7 separate regions of the Homo sapiens genome follow, and regions 1, 2, 4, 5, 6 and 7 are each linked to region 3. The links are contacts of gene promoters, found by promoter capture Hi-C in blood cells and fetal thymus (Javierre and others, 2016). All regions are on one chromosome and are shown on one strand. The core of a region is centred on a gene start or on the middle of the fragment in contact, and the rest is flanking DNA. Distances in the headings are between cores, read along the strand shown.

Evidence for each region. The method cuts DNA at HindIII sites, captures the fragments that hold promoters and counts their contacts. A CHiCAGO score of 5 or more calls a contact.
Region 1: a contact is called between a fragment that was not itself captured here and the fragment with the promoter of CA2 in region 3, in 4 of 17 cell types (total B cells, naive B cells, monocytes and 1 more). The highest score is 10.1, in total B cells.
Region 2: a contact is called between a fragment that was not itself captured here and the fragment with the promoter of CA2 in region 3, in 17 of 17 cell types (endothelial precursors, megakaryocytes, neutrophils and 14 more). The highest score is 24.8, in endothelial precursors.
Region 4: a fragment that was not itself captured here is called in contact with the fragment with the promoter of CA2 in region 3 in 2 of 17 cell types (naive B cells and M1 macrophages); the score reaches 5.4 in naive B cells.
Region 5: a contact is called between a fragment that was not itself captured here and the fragment with the promoter of CA2 in region 3, in 14 of 17 cell types (endothelial precursors, fetal thymus, total CD4 T cells and 11 more). The highest score is 10.9, in endothelial precursors.
Region 6: a contact is called between a fragment that was not itself captured here and the fragment with the promoter of CA2 in region 3, in 11 of 17 cell types (M1 macrophages, total CD8 T cells, total CD4 T cells and 8 more). The highest score is 12.2, in M1 macrophages.
Region 7: a contact is called between a fragment that was not itself captured here and the fragment with the promoter of CA2 in region 3, in 16 of 17 cell types (monocytes, neutrophils, M2 macrophages and 13 more). The highest score is 17.6, in monocytes.

What each region holds. Positions count from the first base shown.
Region 1 is chr8:86,332,574-86,335,451 of GRCh38, reverse strand. It overlaps WWP1-AS1 (WWP1 antisense RNA 1), which reads left to right. Exons shown (of 6, transcript XR_007060994.1): 6 at 1,253-2,178. Among named protein-coding and RNA genes, the nearest start is that of WWP1, 8.5 kb to the left of the region's middle. The HindIII fragment of the contact is 647 bases long and covers 945-1,591 here.
Region 2 is chr8:86,014,773-86,017,477 of GRCh38, reverse strand. It overlaps the pseudogene RPL36AP31. Among named protein-coding and RNA genes, the nearest start is that of PSKH2, 54 kb to the left of the region's middle. The HindIII fragment of the contact is 4,221 bases long and covers 1-2,705 here.
Region 3 is chr8:85,462,565-85,465,264 of GRCh38, reverse strand. CA2 (carbonic anhydrase 2) reads right to left here and starts at 1,258. Exons shown (of 7, transcript NM_000067.3): 1 at 1,150-1,258. The coding sequence starts at 1,183. CA3-AS1 (CA3 antisense RNA 1) reads left to right here and starts at 350. Exons shown (of 3, transcript NR_121630.1): 1 at 350-683; 2 at 2,464-2,529. RefSeq lists an enhancer at 650-1,149 and silencers at 793-1,262, 1,373-1,692, 1,763-2,022. The HindIII fragment of the contact is 7,146 bases long and covers 1-2,700 here.
Region 4 is chr8:86,378,275-86,380,974 of GRCh38, reverse strand. WWP1 (WW domain containing E3 ubiquitin protein ligase 1) reads right to left here. Exons shown (of 25, transcript NM_007013.4): 4 at 111-249. Among named protein-coding and RNA genes, the nearest start is that of WWP1-AS1, 35 kb to the right of the region's middle. The HindIII fragment of the contact is 266 bases long and covers 1,282-1,547 here.
Region 5 is chr8:86,066,322-86,069,263 of GRCh38, reverse strand. The region is part of intron 1 of PSKH2 (protein serine kinase H2); the gene reads left to right. Among named protein-coding and RNA genes, the nearest start is that of PSKH2, 1.9 kb to the left of the region's middle. The HindIII fragment of the contact is 1,036 bases long and covers 1,113-2,148 here.
Region 6 is chr8:86,103,786-86,106,485 of GRCh38, reverse strand. All of the region lies in intron 1 of ATP6V0D2 (ATPase H+ transporting V0 subunit d2), which reads right to left. Among named protein-coding and RNA genes, the nearest start is that of ATP6V0D2, 6.2 kb to the right of the region's middle. The HindIII fragment of the contact is 184 bases long and covers 1,191-1,374 here.
Region 7 is chr8:86,049,226-86,052,102 of GRCh38, reverse strand. All of the region lies in intron 2 of PSKH2 (protein serine kinase H2), which reads left to right. Among named protein-coding and RNA genes, the nearest start is that of PSKH2, 19 kb to the left of the region's middle. The HindIII fragment of the contact is 2,595 bases long and covers 243-2,837 here.

The DNA.
Region 1 (2,878 bases), core at 19-2,518, 870 kb before region 3:
TGTGGCACCTTGGAAATGGATCTTCCAATCCCTCTCAAGTCTTCAGATGACTGCAATCTCACGTAACACTCTATGCCAGAAGTAGCCAGCCAAGAAATACATATATTCCAGAACTGCAAAAACTGTGAGAAATAATAAATCTGTATTATTGTTTTCGGTCACTAGGTTTTGGAGAAATTTTTATACAACAAATATACTTGCATTTTCATTTTCTTAACAATGTGTTTTGAAAAGTCAATGTTTTTATTTTGATGAAGTTCACATCATTTTGTGACATATTTAAGAAATTTTACTTTAAGACAGTGAAGATTTGTTAATACTTTTTTTCTTAAAGTTTATAGCTTTAGCTTTTACATTTGGGTCTATAATCTATTTCAAAATAATTTTTGCATATGCTGAGATGAAAGAGTCAATGTTCATTTTTTTTTTCTAAATAGATATATGGTTGTTTCAATACCATTTGTTGAAAAGACAATCCTTTCCCCATTGAATTACTTTGGAACTTTTGTGAAAACTCTGTCTATTTCTGGGCTCTCTATTCCTTCCATTGAACCATATGTCTATCCTTACACAAATATCACACTGTCTTGATTACTATAACTTTAGAAAGTCTTAAAATTGGGAAGTGTAAATTTTCCAAATTTGTTCTTTTTCAAAATGATTTTGACTCTTCCAGGTTCTTTGCATATGTTATGCTTTTTGATGCTGCAAGAGATCTTCAACAAGTTCATAGAAATATGCATATTTTGAAAAAACTATGCATGGATTTTAAAATTTTTCGCCCCCAGATGAACTCATACTAACTTGCTATAACATGTATGAGCAGGATGTATTTTGAGTCACTAAGAAGGATAAGACATCAGTTTGAAAAAAAGCCCCTATCAGAGTAGCATGAATTCTGCTAGAGTTGAAGCAAGAACAAACATCAAATTTATGGGGAAGCTTGGGTAGAACAATGGTAAAATCACTGATGCTTTATGAAAAATTTATTGGGACAATGCACCAAAGCAATCAGCAGTTTACAAATGGGTAATTCATTTTAAGAAGGGAGGAGATTATGTAAAAGATGAAGCCTGCAATGACAGACCTTCACATCAGTTTGCAAGGAAAAAACTCACCTTGTTCATAACCTCATTCAAGAGGCCTAACAATTAGTAGGAGAAACAATAGCCAACACCATAGAAAACTCAAATCTCATAGCTTACACAATCTGACTGAAAAACTAAAGTGGAGCAAACTTTTCACTCAACAGGTGCCAAAACCATTGTACCCAGATCAACTGCAAACAAGAACAGAGTTTTAATGGAAATTTTAAACAAGTAAGATGAAAATCCTGAAGCATTTCTTTCAAGAATTGTAACAGGAGATGAAACATGGCTTTACCAGTATAATCCCGAAGACAAAGTACAATCAGAGCAATGGCTACCAAGAGGTGGAAGTGGTCCAGTCAAAGCAAAAGCAGACCTGCCAAGAGCAAAGGTCGTGGGAATAGTTTTTTGGGATACTTATTTTGCTTGTTGACTTTCTGAAGAGCCAAAGAACAATAATATCTGCTTGTTTCAAGAGTGTTTTGAGAAAGTTTGCTAAAGCTTTAGCAGAAAAATTCCTGGAAAAGCTTCACCAGTCTTTTTCTACCGCAACAATGCTCCCACTCATTCTTCTCATCAAACAAGGGCAATTTTACAAGACTTTCAATGAGAAATCATTAGGCATCGACCTTACAGTCCTAATTTGGCTCTTTCTAACTTCTTTTTGTTTCCTAATCTTAAAAAATCTGCAAAGGGCTCCCATTTTTCGTCATTTAATCATGTAAAAAAGACATGGTTAAATTTCCATGAATCTCAATTTTTTTAGGGATGGATTAAATGACTGGTGTCATCACTTACAACCATGGTTGACCTCGATGGAGCTTATGTTGAGAAATAAAGTTTATATTCTTTATCTTTTAATTCAATTTTTCCATGAACATTTTGAAGTGCCTCATATTATAAATGATATTTCATTGTTAGTGGTTCATTAATAGGGTATTTAAATACAATTCTTTTTTAATATTAGTCCTGTACACTGAGATCATGTTTAAAAACCTATTAGTTCTAGTAGTATTTTATAGATTTCTTTTGATTTTCTATGTATACAATCATGTTTCTCCAAATAAAGAGTTTTATTTTTTTCCTTCCATTCTGTATGCTTTTATTTCCTTTTCTTGCCCTATTGCATGGACTAGAACATCCAGTACAATGTTGAGCAGAAGTGATGAGAAATACATCCTTACCTTGTTCCTGATTTTCAGACAAAGCATTCAGTGTTTTACCATCAAGTATACTATCTTTAGGCTTTTTGTATACGTAATTTATGAGGTTGAGGAAGTTCTCTTCTTTTCTTAGTTTGCTGAGAGCTTTTTTATATTTTTGAGATAGGGTCTCAGTCACCTAGCCTGGAGTGCTGTCACGATCATGGCTCACTGAGCCTCAGCCTCCTGGGCTCATGTGATCCTTCCACCTCAGCCTTCTGAGTACCTGGGACTACAGATGCATACCACCACATTCGGCTCATTTTTTTGTAGAGACAGGGTTTCACTATGTTGCCCTGGCTGGTCTCGAACTCCTGGACTCAAATGATCCTCTCACCACAGCCTCCCAAAGTGCTGGGATCACAGACATGAGCCACTGTGCTTGGCCTGTCAAGAGCTTTTTAATCATGAATAAATGTTACATTTGTATCAGTGCTTGGCAGTGGCGGGGCGGGGGGCGGCGTCTATTGAGATGATTTTTGTTTTTGTGTGTAGACTATTAATATGATTAATTAAGTTTTTTGATTTTCAAATGTCAAACTAACTTACATTTCTGGGATAAACCACACTTGGTCATGATGCATTCTC
Region 2 (2,705 bases), core at 81-2,580, 550 kb before region 3:
TATTCTAACTGCAGTGTTGTCGGCAAGATGTCCTCCTCTTCTTTGCTGAGCTAGTAAATCATTTTAGACTCCTCTGAAGACTTGGCCCAGAGCCCTATAACACTTATTGAAGCCAATTCCTCTTCTCATCAAGTAAGGACAGTAGTAATTTTCTTCCCTGGGGACATAAGTTTATGCTTGTGAAATTCAGAACTATAAATGGTCCAAATTTGGGAAAATGAAAAAATGATAATGTACTATAATATATAAAATATTATGATACTATAATTGAGGGTTACTTTTTTACCTTTCATTTTTTTTGAACATAAACTCAAGATTTTATTGTCTTCATAATAAAAGAAAAGATGACACTTAGAATTGGATCACTTGGCCCTTTCTCTTCTTATCTACTCCCAGTTCAAAACGCATCTGTTAATAGCCTTAGACGTGCAGTTGGGCTCAAAGCACTCAAACTTTAGCACAATCTTCTTTGTAGTTTTGGCCTTTTTCGGGATAATCAGCTTAGTCTGCCCACCATAGCCACTCTGCTTTCTGTCATAACGCTGCTTTCCCTGGGCATTCAGAGAATCCTTGCTCTTCTTGTATTTTGTCACTTTGTGGGGTTGGTGTTTGCCACACTTCTTACAGAAAGTCCGACGGGTTTTAGGAATGTTCACCATGTTTGTGTGAGTGCTATCACCACGGAAAGAAAGAGGCCGGGCCAGAAACAGAAGTATATAGCACCTTTTTACTTTTCTTTTGACAAGGGCACAACTGTGGAGAGTGGATTGTGTCTTAAAGCCAGATGGCCTTGTAATTGATGCCTTTTGTACTTACTAGCCAAGTGTACTTACGTTAATTTCTTAACGTCATTTGTCTCCTATATAACACCATTTACAGCAGTAGGATTAAATGTGAGTAGAGGACAAGGATACTGCTAAACACTAGCAGATGCCAGGAGCATACTCTGCCCCTCACGTTTTGACAATCAGAAATGTTTTCAGACACTGCTTGGGTGCCGAAATCATCCCTGGCTGAGAACCATGGTCATAGAGAAAGACACCTTGGACTTGGAGAATGGAAAGTGGGCTCCGCTAGTTATAACACCTACTTAAATTTTGCTTTTCTCATTTTTAAAATGTAGGGGTTAAGCAAGATGATCTTTAAGATGATTTCTACTTCTAACAAGCTGTGATTATGTGGAAGAAGAAAATAAATGTACCAGGGATTGAGGAAGGCATGGGGTTGAAGACCAGGGAAATTGGCTAAGATAGGGAGTGGTCAGGTAAGTTATGTATTTCTGAGCAGACAAAGTTGATAATCCATACCCCTAAATAGACAGGATTGCCCACCGAAGCTAACCAGCTGGGGAACAAAGGGCTGGAAATCCAGACAAGGAATTGGCACTTCTACAGATGACAGTGATGGTGGTCATGATGATGATGATGGCGATGGTGACAGTTATGGTAAGGACAAAGCAACTAGTATTTATTTAGCACTAACTGTGGACCAGGTTCTCAGTCTAGGCGGTGGGAAACGAAAGGTCAGCATGTAGGCTGGGGTGAGGTGTAATGGTAGAAGTTACAGAGGAAAGCTAGAAAAGTCAGGCTGCCCTTAGATCCAAGCCAAGGGAAAGCAAGAAACTTGGGACTTGGGCCTATGTTTCATGGAAGGAAATGAGACAAGACCAGTAGAGAATGTATCTTTGCAGATGAAAATATTAATGCTTCATTATTAAAATCCAAGTGGAGTCATTTTTAATAGAAATAGAAGAAAGGGAACAGTGAGAGGAGGGTAATCCTAAAGGCGCTAAGAAGCAGCGGAAGTGGTCAAACAACAAATCAATCTCATTAGCGGAAATATTTCCAGGTTGTAACTTTCATTCTTTCTCTCTTAGGTACATTTTATTGTTAATTACATTATATTTTATTTATTTTTATATTGAAACTGAATGAGTCAGGGCAGTTTATTTTGTTTTGGATTTTAGGATTTACCTATAGTTATTTGCCAGAGATTTAATACCCTAGTGGATATGTGCACACATTTTACGTGGTCCTTTTTAAAGCCAGTCCAATTTCTTTTCAGTGTTTGGTACTGAATGAATGAATCCAATTCTTAACTTCTTGCTTCATCAGACCCGGTTTGCTTGGCTTTTATTATTTATTTATTTATTTATTTATTTATTTATTTATTTATTGAGACGGAGTCTTGCTCTGTTGCCAAGGCTGGAGTGCAGTGGCACGATCTGGGCTCACTGCAACCTCTGTCTCCTGGGTTCAAGCATTTCTCCCTGCTTCAGCCTCCTGAGTAGCTGGGATTACAGGCACACACCACCATGCCTGGCTAATTTTTGTATTTGTTTTATTAGAGGTGGGGTTTCACAATATTGGTCAGGCTGGTCTCAAACTCCTAACCTCAGGTGACCCACCCACTTCCTTGACTTTTAGGAAGATCAGTCTGTTAGGCTGGAGTTGCGATGAGTTACCAAGAAGGAACTTTGGGACTCCAAATCCTTAGTGCATTACAACATGTGCTTTGGATAGTGACCTGTCTGCACATCCCAAGAAATCTTTCAACAATGTCCACCTGAGGTGAAAACGTTTTCCCCCATGAGCAATGCTTAGCATCCCATTTTTAAGTTCATTTTTCACTGAAGTCTATGTTAGTCATCTGTTGCTGCACAATAAATTATCCTCAAACTTAGTGGCTTAAAACAAGAACCATAT
Region 3 (2,700 bases), core at 9-2,508:
AAAGAAGACATGTGAATCCCCCATTGTGGGGAAAGGTACACCCAGACCCCTAGAGAAGAGCAATCATTCCGGAGCCAATCTGCTCAGTTCCAATTTTAGAAGCATCACTTAACAATGGGCTAAATTTTGGGAAAACACGTAATCTGTGCCTCAGTTTCCACATTTGTAATATGGGATAATTAGAAATCTACCTCATAGATGTCGCTGTAAGAATTAGAATCGATATATGTAAAGCTCTTAGATCACTGAGTGCTATATAAATATTAGCTATTTTAAGGTCGTTTTACTGAAATTCAGCAACTGAAATCGGGCAGACACTAATGTCAGGGCTTGTGGTTGCGATTTTGGGATATGCAAGCTCACTTAAGACATTCAAGGAGGTCTGGATCCTTTCCTCACTGCCCAGGCCCGGGCCCACCCCACCTTTAACCGTCAGGGTTCCCCACTACCTGGGAAGCCCCACACCCTCCAAAGATGCGCTAGGTGCGCCAGACGCATGCTCCTCTGCTCCGCTGGCTCCGAAGAACCAGATCTGAGGCCAAGATAAAACCCGATTCCTGATGTCCGACCCCCTAACATTAGAAGTCGAGAGATGAAGGGAAAACTCGGAAATCAGAGCCATGGATTCAAACCAGCACTGGAAAATGCCCCGGGACAGTTCGTGCTGAGCGCCTTAGCCACAGGTGGTGCTGAAGCTGGAGGGGTGGGGTGGGGGTGGAAGGTGGGGGAGGGGGGAGGGGAGTCTCTTAATTTCTCTGCGATCAACAACTAGAATTTTCCGTTACAACCCTTTCCCGCCTCCTCCTAGGTCCGGTTAAAATGATCCCCAGGTCGGGACCCGGGAGGGACTGTCCTCGGGTCCCGCGGCCAGGGCTGCGCCTCCCCTCCCTCGGGCCCTACGCGCCTCCGGCGGACGCGGGGATTCCTCCACAGTGGCCTCGCAGCTGGGGCAAGGGGGACATCCCCGGCGCCGCGGAGCCGCGAGCGGAGCGAGCGCCCGGGGCGCACCTGAGCCTCCAGCACTCCCCGCGGCCGCGGTAAACAGCATGTGCGGGCGCTGCGGGCCCCGGGCCGGCATCCGGGCTCGGGGATCGGGGATCGGGGATCGGGGATCGGGGCGCCCCCGCGCTGGCCGTCGCCGGCACTCACCGTTGTGTTTGCCGTACCCCCAGTGATGGGACATGGTCGCGCTGGCGGTCGGGGCAGGGCAGGAATCGGCACCGATCTGGCGGCGGCGGCTTGGGCGCCTGCACTGTGTGTCCGCGGGTCGCGCCGGCACCAGCTTTTATAGGCTCCCGCCAACTTCGTGCTCGGGGGCGGCCCGGGGGAGGGGGCTCGGGTGGACCTAGGCGACAAGGGGAGGTGGTGACGGGCGGAGGTGAACTCCCCGCGCTCGGGGCGGGGCGGGCCGGGCGGGCGAGTCTCCGGGGGCGGGGAAAACGCCCTCTCGGCTGGCGCCCGGCGGGGCTCCGGGGCTCCGGGGCTCCGGGGCTCCTCTCCCGCCGCCCGGCTCCCCTCGGCCCACGGCAGGGCCCCGGTGTCCTGGGCTGGCAGCGAAGCTCGGAGCTCTGGGCGTGCGGCGGCTGCGGTGGCTCCTGGGCTCCTCCGTCCAACCCGGGCCGCGGAGCCTCTACGCGCACCCCATCCCCCTCCCGGCTGCGGAGTCTGGCGGCGGCGGGGACTGCTCGGGACCCGGACCCCCGGCGCCTTTCGTCCCCTGTCCCCATTGTGACCTGTCTCTTGGCCCCGGAGCCCTCCCGCCCCACCCGCGCCGGGGTCTCCAGCGCGAAGGGCTCAGTCTCTGGTGTCCCCGGCCTGGGGCTGGCAAGCTGGGTTAGGAGCTATGACCTTGGGGCAAATAGGGATACGATCCTAGAGGCGCAGGGGAGCGCGCAGCATGAGTGCTGAGAGGCACGCGCCCTCTGCTGCACGGCCGTGGAATAAAACGAGACAACGGCCCCACAGTCCCCTGCCCGCAGCCCACGCTCGGGCGAGCCTGGAGGATTGCATTTCCTCGTAGGCTGGCAGAGCCTTACATGAAGCGCTCATCTTCTCCTACTTTCCTCCTCTTTAAAAAATTAACGTGGGTGAGGAGACGTCCTAGTTGAGTACATATTGATTTGAAATAACCAAAACTTTTAACAAATCACTTTTCTCAGAAGAATCCAGTAAGAGAAAGATAATTTCTTCCAAAGACATGAGACGTTCCCTGGCTGGCCAAGAAAAATTGGCATCTGGCATACCTAGGAATCATTCAAAATAGTTTAATAGGAAGGACATTTTGAGGCCAGCCAGCATTATGACATTTGTGGGTCCTACGGCATTTCACCTTGGTGGGTCCCTTTTTCATAAACACGCATTTATACCAACACTGACATAAAGATAAATATCTTAATATTATATATTTAAACATTTTCTTTAACCAACACCTAATTTTTTTCTTTTTTGTTCTTATTTTAAAAGGAAACATTTTCCTGGGCATCTAAAAGTATTGTGGACCTGAGACACTGTGCTTACAGGGCCTACTGGGTAAGTGAGGCTGTTTTGAGATATAGAGAGAATTCATTTCCTACAAGGGATTTTGCCACAGAAAAATCCGGGGGTTTGTGGGAAGGAGTTCGGTTCTGTGGTCTCTGCAATCTCTGAGGGCAATAGTATTAGAGTTACAGTTGGGGAAGCAGGACACAGTTTAATGTGATT
Region 4 (2,700 bases), core at 165-2,664, 920 kb before region 3:
ACTTTAAAAAAATCACTCATTACTTTGAAGTCATTTTACAAAACAAAAAACATATTCCAAAAAATACACTTTCTTGTGAAGATTTTCCGTCCTTTACACAAGGTACTTACACAGTTAGCTGTTCATCCCATTTTGGATTAGAAGAACTACTGGATTTTGCTGTTTTCGTAATTTCTCCATCTACAACTACTTCTGTATATATTGCTGTTCCGAACCAGTTCTTTTTTCTTTTAAGTTTGGCACTAGAAACTAACAGACAAATAATTCACTAGTGAGTATGTGTTGCCAAAAAGTAGTACTGCACACTAATCAATCAATAAGAATGGAATTGTGCTTCTTGTGCAACTAGAACTCTTCTCGTTGGCAGAATGAAGAAACAATACAAAAGGGCTACTGATAATGCTTGAGAGCCATTTGAATGTTTCTGTAACAGTTTTAGTGAGCTATCATTCACATATCATATAATTCACCCACTTAAACTGTACAATTCAATGGTTTCACTATATTCAGAGTGGCACAACCATCACCACAATCAATTTTAAAACAGTTTTGTTACCATAAAAATAAACTCCATACCATTAAGCAGTCACCCCCTTCTTTCTCCTCCCAATCAACCCTCTCCCCACCCCCATCCCTAGGCAGCCACTAACCTACTCTCTGTCTCTTTAAATTTGCCTATTCTGGACATTTCATATAGATGGAATCATATAATGTGGGTTTTTTTTGTGACTGGCTTCTTTCACTCAGCATTACATTTTTGAGGTTCATCCATATTGTAACATGCACCAGTACTCCACTCCTTTTCTTGCCAAATACCATTCTATTATATGGGTATATGACATTTTATCTATTAACTGATAAATATATGAACTGCTTCCACTTTGTGGCTATTGTGCATAAAGCTGTTATGAACATTTGTGCACAGGCTTTTTTGTGGACGTATGTTTTCATTTCTCTTGGGCATATACTTTGGAGTAGAACTCCTGGCTCATGTGATAACCCTCTGTTGAGTAACTGCCAGGCTATTTTCCAAAGTGGCTGCACCATTTTATATTCCTATCAACAATATACACTGATTTCTCCACATTCTCACCAACAACTGCATTAAAGATCAAGGGAAAAGTGTCTTCAGATTCAACATGCCCATTAACATCCCTGCCAGGTACTATTAACTTGTCTTTCTGAAATTACATAACTGTGGCACTTAAAAAAATGCTTTAATGTTTTATCTGGAAAGTTAGCTTCGAAAAGAAGTAGTATTTGCATTTTCAAATAAAAGCTTAAAAATCAAAATGTCATTATAAAAGTTAATCATAACCCCTTCCAGAAAGTGAAAATCTAATATACCTGAGATATGAAGAAATCAGGGACTATCTACTTTCTGGGCAAAATACTGATGAACAGGCAGTAAGAACAACTTATCAAGATCACCTCTATAATCAATTACCTGTGAACACCCTAGATCAGAGATGAGGAAGGGAAAAGCCTCTTTCATGTCATACACACCGGATGTTAAGGATATAAAAACAACCAAAGCTATGTAAGCTTCCATTCTATTGTGAGAGAATAATAATCTAAATAGTCACACAAATAAATCACTGAAATACAATGTGATAAATGCAAGATTCCAAGCAAATACTATATTTAAGTACCGGCAACATAGCAATTAAAGAGTGTTCAATGTTATGTCTGAACTGCTACTACCAGGGTCTTAGCAAAACTCATTTCCATCCTTCATCGTTCCAAACTGCTCTAAGTTCAGCGCCACTGGACTAATATAGAAGGCCCAGACTTGCTCTCTCCCAAGAAACTTCCCAAGATTCTTTGAATAAAAGTGCTCATATATTTCCTCAGTATATGTAAGTCTTATCCATATAGCAGAAGACTGGAAGAAGGAAAAGTCAGTATATGATGGTGTTAAAAGCAGAGGGATAGACATATCTGGGTTCATTTTTCAAATGTGCCACTTACTAAAAGCCTGACCACAGTAAGTCAATTAATTTCTCCATCCCTTACTTGAAAAATCAGAAGAACAGCAGTACCTGATTCTTAGGATTGGTGAGTGAAGGCATGCAAGGCACTATCACCATCAATGAATGTCTGGCATCCAACAATGGTAGCTGTTACTCTATTATTACTGACTATATAGTATTAACTCTTCTCTGAGTTCATTACAGATCCATCCAAAATACGTCCACTGAATACCCTTACTTGGCAAAATACTCAACAATACTAGAGGGTAAGGTAAGAAAAGAGATTTTTCAAAGATAATAATCTTTAATCTCATGAGGAATTTATAAATATGCTAGCAAAATGTACATATAAATAATGTGATTTTAAATAACTAGAAGACAACCTTATTAATTCAAAAAGTTGTTCTAGTTAGTAGAATATATAGATTTTTTTTCTCATTTAATGAGTTTCCTTTGGTGTTATACACAGAATGTCCTCCACTCTAAGGTTATATAAGTATTTTTAAACTATCAGAAAATGAGTCACCTGTGAGAGGGTAGGGAGAGTTAACTCAAAAATCCCACTCACAATAACATCCCTTCAAAAAATCTAGTAATAAACTTAAGAAATAAGTAAGAGTCACATGAAGAGAACTATAAAACTTTACCAATGGAAACAAAGGCTTAAAAAAAATGATATGATATATTCCTAGATTTGAAAAGTTTAACATTGAAATATTTCAATTAG
Region 5 (2,942 bases), core at 381-2,880, 600 kb before region 3:
CAAGAGTGTCTTTTTCAGGCACCTGGCAGCCATCCCTTTGAAATGTAGTCATCAAGAGAGTTAGGGCCACTGTCTCCCAGTCTCTGTGGGAGGGCAGGAGCCTAACTTCCATAAGGGCCAGGTAGCAAACACAGATCTCATTGACCACCTCTCCCTAAGCTTCTCCCATTCTTTTCCACTGGCTCACCCCAGCGCTTAAAAACTTTCTTGCCTTTTGTTTCGAAGGCGTCCATTTTCTTTCCCCTGTTGCAGAAGCCTCGACTCCTATTGCAATAGTCTGGGATAAGCCTTCCTTGCTGTGTTCCATAAGTGCCCAGTACAATTTCTCTTTGACATCTCTGAACAGGGAGTTCAGAGGATGGGAAAAAAGAGAGCAGGAGCAGCAGCAAACAAGGGAAGGAATTCCTATCTTCGGAGGTGGGGGGTGGGGGTGTGAGAGGACTGTCTGCCAACCTCCAGCATCTGCGGTGGAAGACGGCTTTGCCTCTAATATCCTGGGGCTGGGTCCTGCCAGACCTGGTGTGTGAAGGATCTTCCACTAATTCTAAAAATTGGGATTACAGCGAGTGAACTAGAGATGCGCCTTTGAGTCAGCCAGACTTGAGGTCCAGTTCCATATCTTCTATCATGTACCATGTAGAACATTCCTTAGCTTTTTTCCTTCCTTCGTTTCTAGCTCTGTAAAATGGGAGTATCTATCTCATAAGACTGTTGTGAGCATAATTAAAGTAATACATGTAAATTATGCTGCACAGTGCATGGTACCAGTCCTCATGCAGACATTAGTGCAATGCTGATTATTGTTTTCATGAAGTACAAATAAGCCCTTCCTATGTAGAAGATTTCAGGTTGGTTGGCCTCCTGAGTGTACCATGTTGGACATGTTGGACATTTTGACCAAGTAAATCACGGAATCCCCTTCTCCTCTGTGTGTTTGGGGAGACACAATAATGGGTGGCTCAGCTGGCTTCCCAAGGCACTGCTGGTCCTAGAATTGCATGCTCACTTCGTCACAGTGCTCTGTCCAGAATCTATGCAGAGCCATTTCCTGGCCTCCTTGAGAACTTTTAGTACAGTGACTCCTGGAGGATTAGTTCGGTGGCTGCTAAGCTTACAGAAGAACAAGGCTGGCTAATATGACTGAACTGAATCTGAGTAGGTACAGGGTCTTGTCAAGACTGAATTGGTTAAATGGCATCTCTGGTCATTTGTAGTCAGAGAGATGATGCTAGTCTGGTCTAGTTTTCATCCACCCTACTAATTCCCAATCCAGGGGTAGACCCAGCCCCATAGAGTGTAAAGGCATCACAGAAGTAGAGGATCTCAACATTATAAGGGCTTCAGAGATTTTAACTCAAGGCTCATCTTTAACCAATGAGTAGTTGTGTCCCCAAAGGTTAAGTGACTTGTCCAAGTTAGTGGTAGAATTGGGACTAGAACACAGTCGTCTTCCTTCTCCGTTGTGATTCCATCTATAACTTTTGCAGAAAAGAGATGATAGAATTTAGATATGAGTATATTTACTTTCTTGTTGGGAGTTTATTATAATTGTTTCTCTCAAGCAGATTGTAACACTATTATTATTTCCTTGTTTCAAATCTTTAATCTATGTTCAAAAATTCCCAGTTTGTATCATAGCAGCTGAGGTTAAAGTAATATTTCCAATTTACGTAGTCTCTGGGATGATACAAAATTGTCCAACCTACTAAACTGACTCTGAGGCTACTCTTTAAGAGAGTGGAGGGGTAAAAGTGAAGGAAATGAAAAGACCTTATAAAGGCATTCTTCCCAGCTTGATGTGATCTTTACTTAATGTTTGCAAAATATATATGATGATTCAGGAATAATATGTATTCAGTGAATGATTCTTTTGTTCAGTGTTTATTGCTACTCCTCTGTGCTAGGCACTTTACAAGGTATAGCCACGCAAATCATAAAGTTGGTCACCATTCATGGCAGTTGAGGACTCACGAGCAAGGCTGTAGCTATAAGAATTTGTTATGGGACAAATTGAATAACAATCTGAGGCATTTATTTCCACCACTCTAAATCTTGGCTTCAAGTGTACTGTTTCCTCCAATGCCAAATTACTAGCATTTTTTCAAATATTGGAAATATGAAGCCCCCTTAACAGTATTGAATAAAGCTTCTTTTATTTGAGCAAAAGCGTGTAGTTCTCAGAAATGGTAGTTTGTTTGATATGATTAATTCTGTGAACAAATGAGTTTGATGGCAGCTTTGAGGGCATAGCGATAAATTAGCATTTACAAAGTGCTTTCATCCACAATAGAGGTAATATAAAACTTGGTTGGTCTGCAAAGCAATAGAATTTGAAATGCCTGTGATTATCTTCAAAATCACACTGAGAATGCATGTGAATAGAAAAGCAGAGTTGGAAAGGGAAAAGGGGAAAGAATCTATTTAAGATTACTAAATTGCTATCTGTTTTGATAAGGTAATTGGCCAGAAAATTAAATGCTCTGTGGAGAACAAAGCTGTTTTCTGTAATCTGGTACAGCCAAATGTCATTTTTATTCAATACACACAGGAATATAAAGAACAAACAAGAAGGCAAAAAAAAAAGTTACAGGAAAAATAAGCTCAATAAAAGAAGTAAGACTATTTAAAGCATAGTTTAGTATTTGCATTTGAATCTTTGGTATTGAATATGTGATATAAAAACGTGCCTTCTCCCTGGGTACTCCCTGAGTACATTCCATTCTCTGTCATCCTTAGCTAGGAGAGGTTTTATTAAAATGAAGTCCAGGCACAGTGGCTCATACCTGTAATCCCAACACTTTGGGAGGCTGAGGTGGGCAGATCACTTCAGGTCAGGAGTTCAAGACCAGCCTGGCAAACATGGTGAAATCCCGTCTCTACTAAAAAAAATACAAAAATTAGCCAGGCATGGTGGTGTGCACCTGTAATCTCAGCTACTCAGG
Region 6 (2,700 bases), core at 33-2,532, 640 kb before region 3:
CCCAGTGAACTGGGAGTTAGGCCACGGAGATACCATCTAAAGATGAGATAAGAAAGCACTTATCAGTGCTCACGCTTGTAATCCCAGCATTTTGGGAGGCTGAAGCAGGAGGATTGTTTGAGGCCAGGAGTTCAAGACCAGCCTGGGCAACAAAGTGAGACCTTGTCTTTGCAAATGACAAAAAAGTTAGCCAGGCTTGGTGACATGCACCTGTGGTCCCAGGTACTTGAAAGGCTAAGGTGGGAGGATCACTTGAGCCTAGGAGATTGAGGCTGCATTGAGCCATGATCACGCTACCCACTACTGCATTCCCTGGCTTGGGCAACAGAATGAGACCCTGTCTCAAAATAAAAAAATAAAAATAAAAAAAAAAAGCACCATGTTAAAGGTTAAGCACTTGCTTAGAATCCCAGAACCATAAAGCAGAAGATCCAGGACTTGAACCCAATATGTAGATATTTCCAGTGTGTATTTTCAGATTCTTACTACATGCAAAATACACTCTTAGGCTTAGGGAGGTAGGAGAGAGAAAAGTTTAAGGTGTACTTTCTGCCTTTAAGAAGTTTACAGGCAGCCAGGCACAGTGGCTCACGTCTATAATCCCAGCACTTTGGGAGGCCGAGATGGGCAGATCACGAGGTCAGGAGATCGAGACTATCCAAGCTAACACGGTGAAACCCCATCTCTACTAAAAATATAAAAAATTAGCCGGGCGTGGTGGTGGGTGCCTGTAGTCCCAGCTACTCGGGAGACTGAGGCAGGAGAATGGCATGAACCTGGGAGGCGGAGCTTGCAGTGAGCCGAGATCGCGCCACTGCACTCCAGCCTAGGCGACAGAGAATCCATCTCAAAAAAAAAAAAAAAGAAAAGAAAAAAGAAGTTTACAGGCTAGGCACTCGCTGGCTTACACCGGTAATCTCAGTACTTTGGGAGGCTGAGGTGGGCAGATCACTTGAGCTCAGGAGTTCAAGACCAGCCTGCGCAACATGAATAAACCCTGTCTCTACAAAAATACAAAAATTAGTCAGGAACAGTGGCCTGTGCCTGTAGTTCCAGCTACTCAGGAGGCTGAGGTGGGAGGGTCGCTTAAGTCCGGGAGAGGTAGAGGTTGCAGTAACTGAGATCATGCCACTGCACTCCAGCCTGGGTGTCAGAGCCAGACCGTCTTAAAAAATAAAAATAAAAAAGCTTGCAATAAGGCAGATAGAGCTATATATTTATTTATCAGTTAAGCCTGTAACTGCAGCAGCCTCTGGAGCTAGATAGACAAACGAGGCAAATGTTCTGCCTCAGGATGACACATCTATGCAAATGTCACAGATGTTATACAGGATTAGGTTCATTACAAGGTACCGTGGAGCTAAAGTTGAAGCTTGTCAATTCCATCCCATGATAGATTCTGTAGGAAGGGGCTTACAGAGGAAGTGACTTAAATGAAGACTTTAAAGGGAGATGGTCGCTTTCCAGGAACATGGGATAAGGGATGGAATTTGTGATTGAAGGTGCAGCTCTAGAAAAGGCAAAACATTCTGACGAAGGGCTTACAAGGTGGATCAGCCTTTTAAGCTGTCATTTATCATTTATCTTGCCTGATGGAAGCTCTTGATGTGTGTGTGTGTGTGTGTGTGTGTGTGTATGTGTTTTAAACAGGAGAGAATTGGATATGTCTTTTTAATATAAGGCAGAAAAAGTGCTATAATTAGAGGTACAAATAATGTCTAAGGAAGCAAAGAGAAAGCTCTTTGAAATCAGTCATCCTCCCATATGTTATTTTGAAATTAAAAATAAGTAATAGGTGTATATATGGGTAAACAGTGACAGGTCCCTATGCTTGTCACTCACCTACCCACCACCCCCTGCCACTCGTTCCTAGCTTCACGTAACCTCTATTTTTAGTTTCTTTTTAATCCTTTCACAGTTTCTTTGTAGCTAGGTAATCATATAGGAAGTATATTTTTAAAATTTATCCCACTTTTTACTAAAGAGTGCCATGCCACACCTGGTTCTTCCCCTTGCTTTTCTGACTTAATGTATCTTGGTAATCTTTCCATATTTCTCCTTTTAGAGTGCTTCCTCATGCGTTTTTCCTTTTAAATGCAGAATATTCCATTATGTGAATGTTCCATAACTTATTTAACTTATTCCTGGCTGGTTGTGGTGGCTCAGGCCTATAATCCCAGCATGTTAGAAGGCCAAGGTGGGAGGATTGCTTGAGCCCAGGAGTTTGAGAGTAGCCTGGGCAACATAAGACCCTGTCTCTATTAAAAAAATAAATTTTAAAAAATGAAAACTTATTTCCTGCAGAGGGACACTTGATTTGTTTCCATCTTTTGCTATTCCAAACTATGCCACATAAAAGGCCAGCCGCGGTGGGTCATGCCTGTAATCCCAGCACTTTGGGAGGCTGAGGTGGGTGGATCACTTGAGGTTAGGAGTTTGAGACCTGTCATGGCCAACATGGTGAGACCCCATCTCTACTAAAAATACAAAAAATTAGCCAGGCATGGTGGTGCACGCCTGTAGTCCCAGCTACTCGGGAGACAGAGGCACAAGAATCACTTGAACCCAGGAGGCAGAGGTTGCAGTGAGCCGAGATTGTGCCATTACATGCCAGCCAGGGTGACAGAGTGAGACTCTGTCTCAAAAACAACAACAAAAAACTATGCCACATAAAGAGCCTTGTATAGCTGTCATCTCACA
Region 7 (2,877 bases), core at 291-2,790, 590 kb before region 3:
GCACACTCCATTTTTATTCATTAATAGATATGTACGTGTATGTATATTAGTCTATTTTATACTTTACTAAACATAGATGAAAATCAATTTTAGATTAATAAAAGAAAAATAAAATAGTTCATTTTCTTTCTGTAGCTGCCCTTTTCTAATGTGAAATGTGAAATTGACTCCTAGATACTCTCCAGTTGTCCTTTATGGCTCAGGAATTCTGCAATTTATAACTCATGTTTGAATAATAAGCTTTGGCTGAAGAACTTTTTCTCCGGTTACTTTATTTTCTTCAACTGCATTTTAAACGTACAATCATTTGGGGTCATCTTAATAAGCTCTCCATAAACCTTGTTGCACATATTTTATACTCTTTCAGAAAGATTCAGTTGCTTGTCTTAAAATGTTCCAGAGGAGCCATCTAATTTAACCTTCATTTAAATAGTCTTGAGCTCAGATAGATTTGTCTGGATTCAGGGCCAAATAGATGTCTAGCCAGAACCAGAGGGCATGGCATTGTGAGTGTCAGTCACTGATGTGCTTTTTCTAGACTTGCAGAGTTTATATTTTGTTTTTCCTGTGTTTGAGTATTTGTCAGATATGCTTATTTATTTTATAACTTTTATTTCTGGGATAAATATTTCTCATGTCTCATTTACCTAAATACACTGAAGGAAAAAAAAGAAGAGTTCTTTTACTGGTTTCTTATTATTCAAATTCTGGATTAAGGCGGGGGGCAGTGTTTACGCCTGTAATCCCAACAATTTGGGCGGCCGAGGCAGGCGGATCACCTGAGGTTAGGAGTTTGAGACCAGCCTGGCTAACGTGGCGAAACCCGGTTTCTACAAAAATGCAAAAATTAGCTGGGCTTGGTGGCACATGCCTGTAATCCCAGCATGTGAGAGTGAGGCACTCTCCCAGCATGGGAGAGTGAGGCACGAGAATCGCCTGAACCCGGGAGGCGGAGGTTGCAGTGAGCCACGATCATGCCACTGCACTCCAGCCTGGGCAACACAATGAGACACCATTTCAAAAACAAACAAACAAACAAATTCTGAGTTAAGTTGGCATGGGTGGGGGTGGGAGTGGGTCTGCAGTCACAGTTACTTGGGAAACTGAGGCAGGAGGATGGCTTGAGACCAGGAGGAGTTCAAGTCCAGCCTCGGCAATATAACAAGACCCCATCTCTAAAAAAAGCAAAACAAAACAACAAAAAACAAAACATAGAGTTAATAGGGTGCTAAGAGATTGGAGAATGTGATGTCTATGTATGGACTCTGCTTTATCGTTACACAATGGCAGAGACAATACATGGAAGGATTCCCTTATCTTTCCTTGGAAATACCATCTTTTAAAAACACACATCAATTAGAAATTGTGTTTGAGATACAGCAAACGTATGGGCAATTTTCTCAATGTTTCTCTTTTGCAGAGGACAAAGGACACTAAACTGTAGTGTTTTCCGGGTATACGGTATGTGCTGGTAGAGTCAACCTACAGGATGAGGCTGAGGCACAAAATATAGTTTTTAAGAGCTTGTCTGATCAGGCCAAAGTGGGGACAGCTGCTCTGGAAAACGTCCTAACTTCTGTGGGGCGTGTGCTCTTAGGTCTGGGCTGATACAAAGTTGTTTGAGAGGAATTAACACTGGTTTACATAAATAACATTGATTAGTGATTGGCTATATTGTTGAACTGTGGGGTATGAGTGATGGTGTCCAACCTATGGCACTTTATGGCTACTTGGTGTTAGATAGCGTAGAGCCCACATAGCAAGTGGCTTCAAGAGGTAATTATTTAGCACAAGAGGAGAATGAGAAGTGAAGGCTGTTATATTTCAGTGCCTCTCTTGGCCTGATAATTTAAAGGGGCTTGCATTCCTCAGATTAAATTGTTTCTTTTCTTTCTCAGCAGATAATGCAGAAAGCAAATTTGAATATAAAGCAACAGCCTTCTTATTCCCATGCTCAGAAATGCCACTATGAAGTGCTGCTATTGTATTTAAAGTATGTGCAATTGCTGTAAACACTGCCACTATAAATCCCTGAAATAGGAACTACTTAGCTGTGCATATTGTACTGTGTCATAGCTGTTACGTGTTGAATCTATTTGTAGTCAAATCTATTTGAATCTATTTGTTACATGTTGAATCTATTTGTTCTCAGCTGATTGGGAACAGTGAGGGCCCAGTGTGTTTGAGGAAGTGCACTTCACTTCCTTCCTTCCTTCCTTCCCTCCCTCCCTCCTTTCCTTCTTTCTTTCTTCCTCTTTCTCTCTCTCTCTGCCTTTCTTCCTTTCTTTCTTCCTCTTTCTCTCTTCCTTTCTTCCTTTCTTTTTCTTTCTTTTCTCTTTCTTTCTTTCTTTCGTTTCTTTCTTTCTTTCTTTCTTTCTTTCTTTCTTTCTTTCTTTCTTTCTTTCTTTCTTTCTTTCTTTCTTTCTTCTTTCTCACTCTTTCTCTCTCTCTCTCTCTGCCTTCCCCTCCCCTCTTCTCTCTCTCTGCCTCTCCCCTCCCCTCTTCGCTCTCTCTCTCTCTCTCTCTCCTCTTTCTTTCTTTTTAGAGACAGGGTCTCACTCTGTCACCCAGGCTGGAGTGTGGTGCTGCCATCATAGCTCACTGCAGCCTTGAATGCCTGGGCTGAAGGAATCCTCCCACCTCAGCTTCCTGAGTAGTTGGGATTACAGACATGTGCCACTGTGCCTGGCTAATTTTTACATTTTTTGTAGAGATGGGGTTTTGCTGTGTTGTCCAGGCTGGTCTCAAACTCCTGGACTCAAACGATCCTTCTTCCTCAACCTCCCAAAGTGCTGGGATTACAAACGTGAGCTACTGTGCCTGGCTCAGAGTAAGCTTTCAAAGGGAGGGAAAAGTTGATGATTTCTCAATCCATTC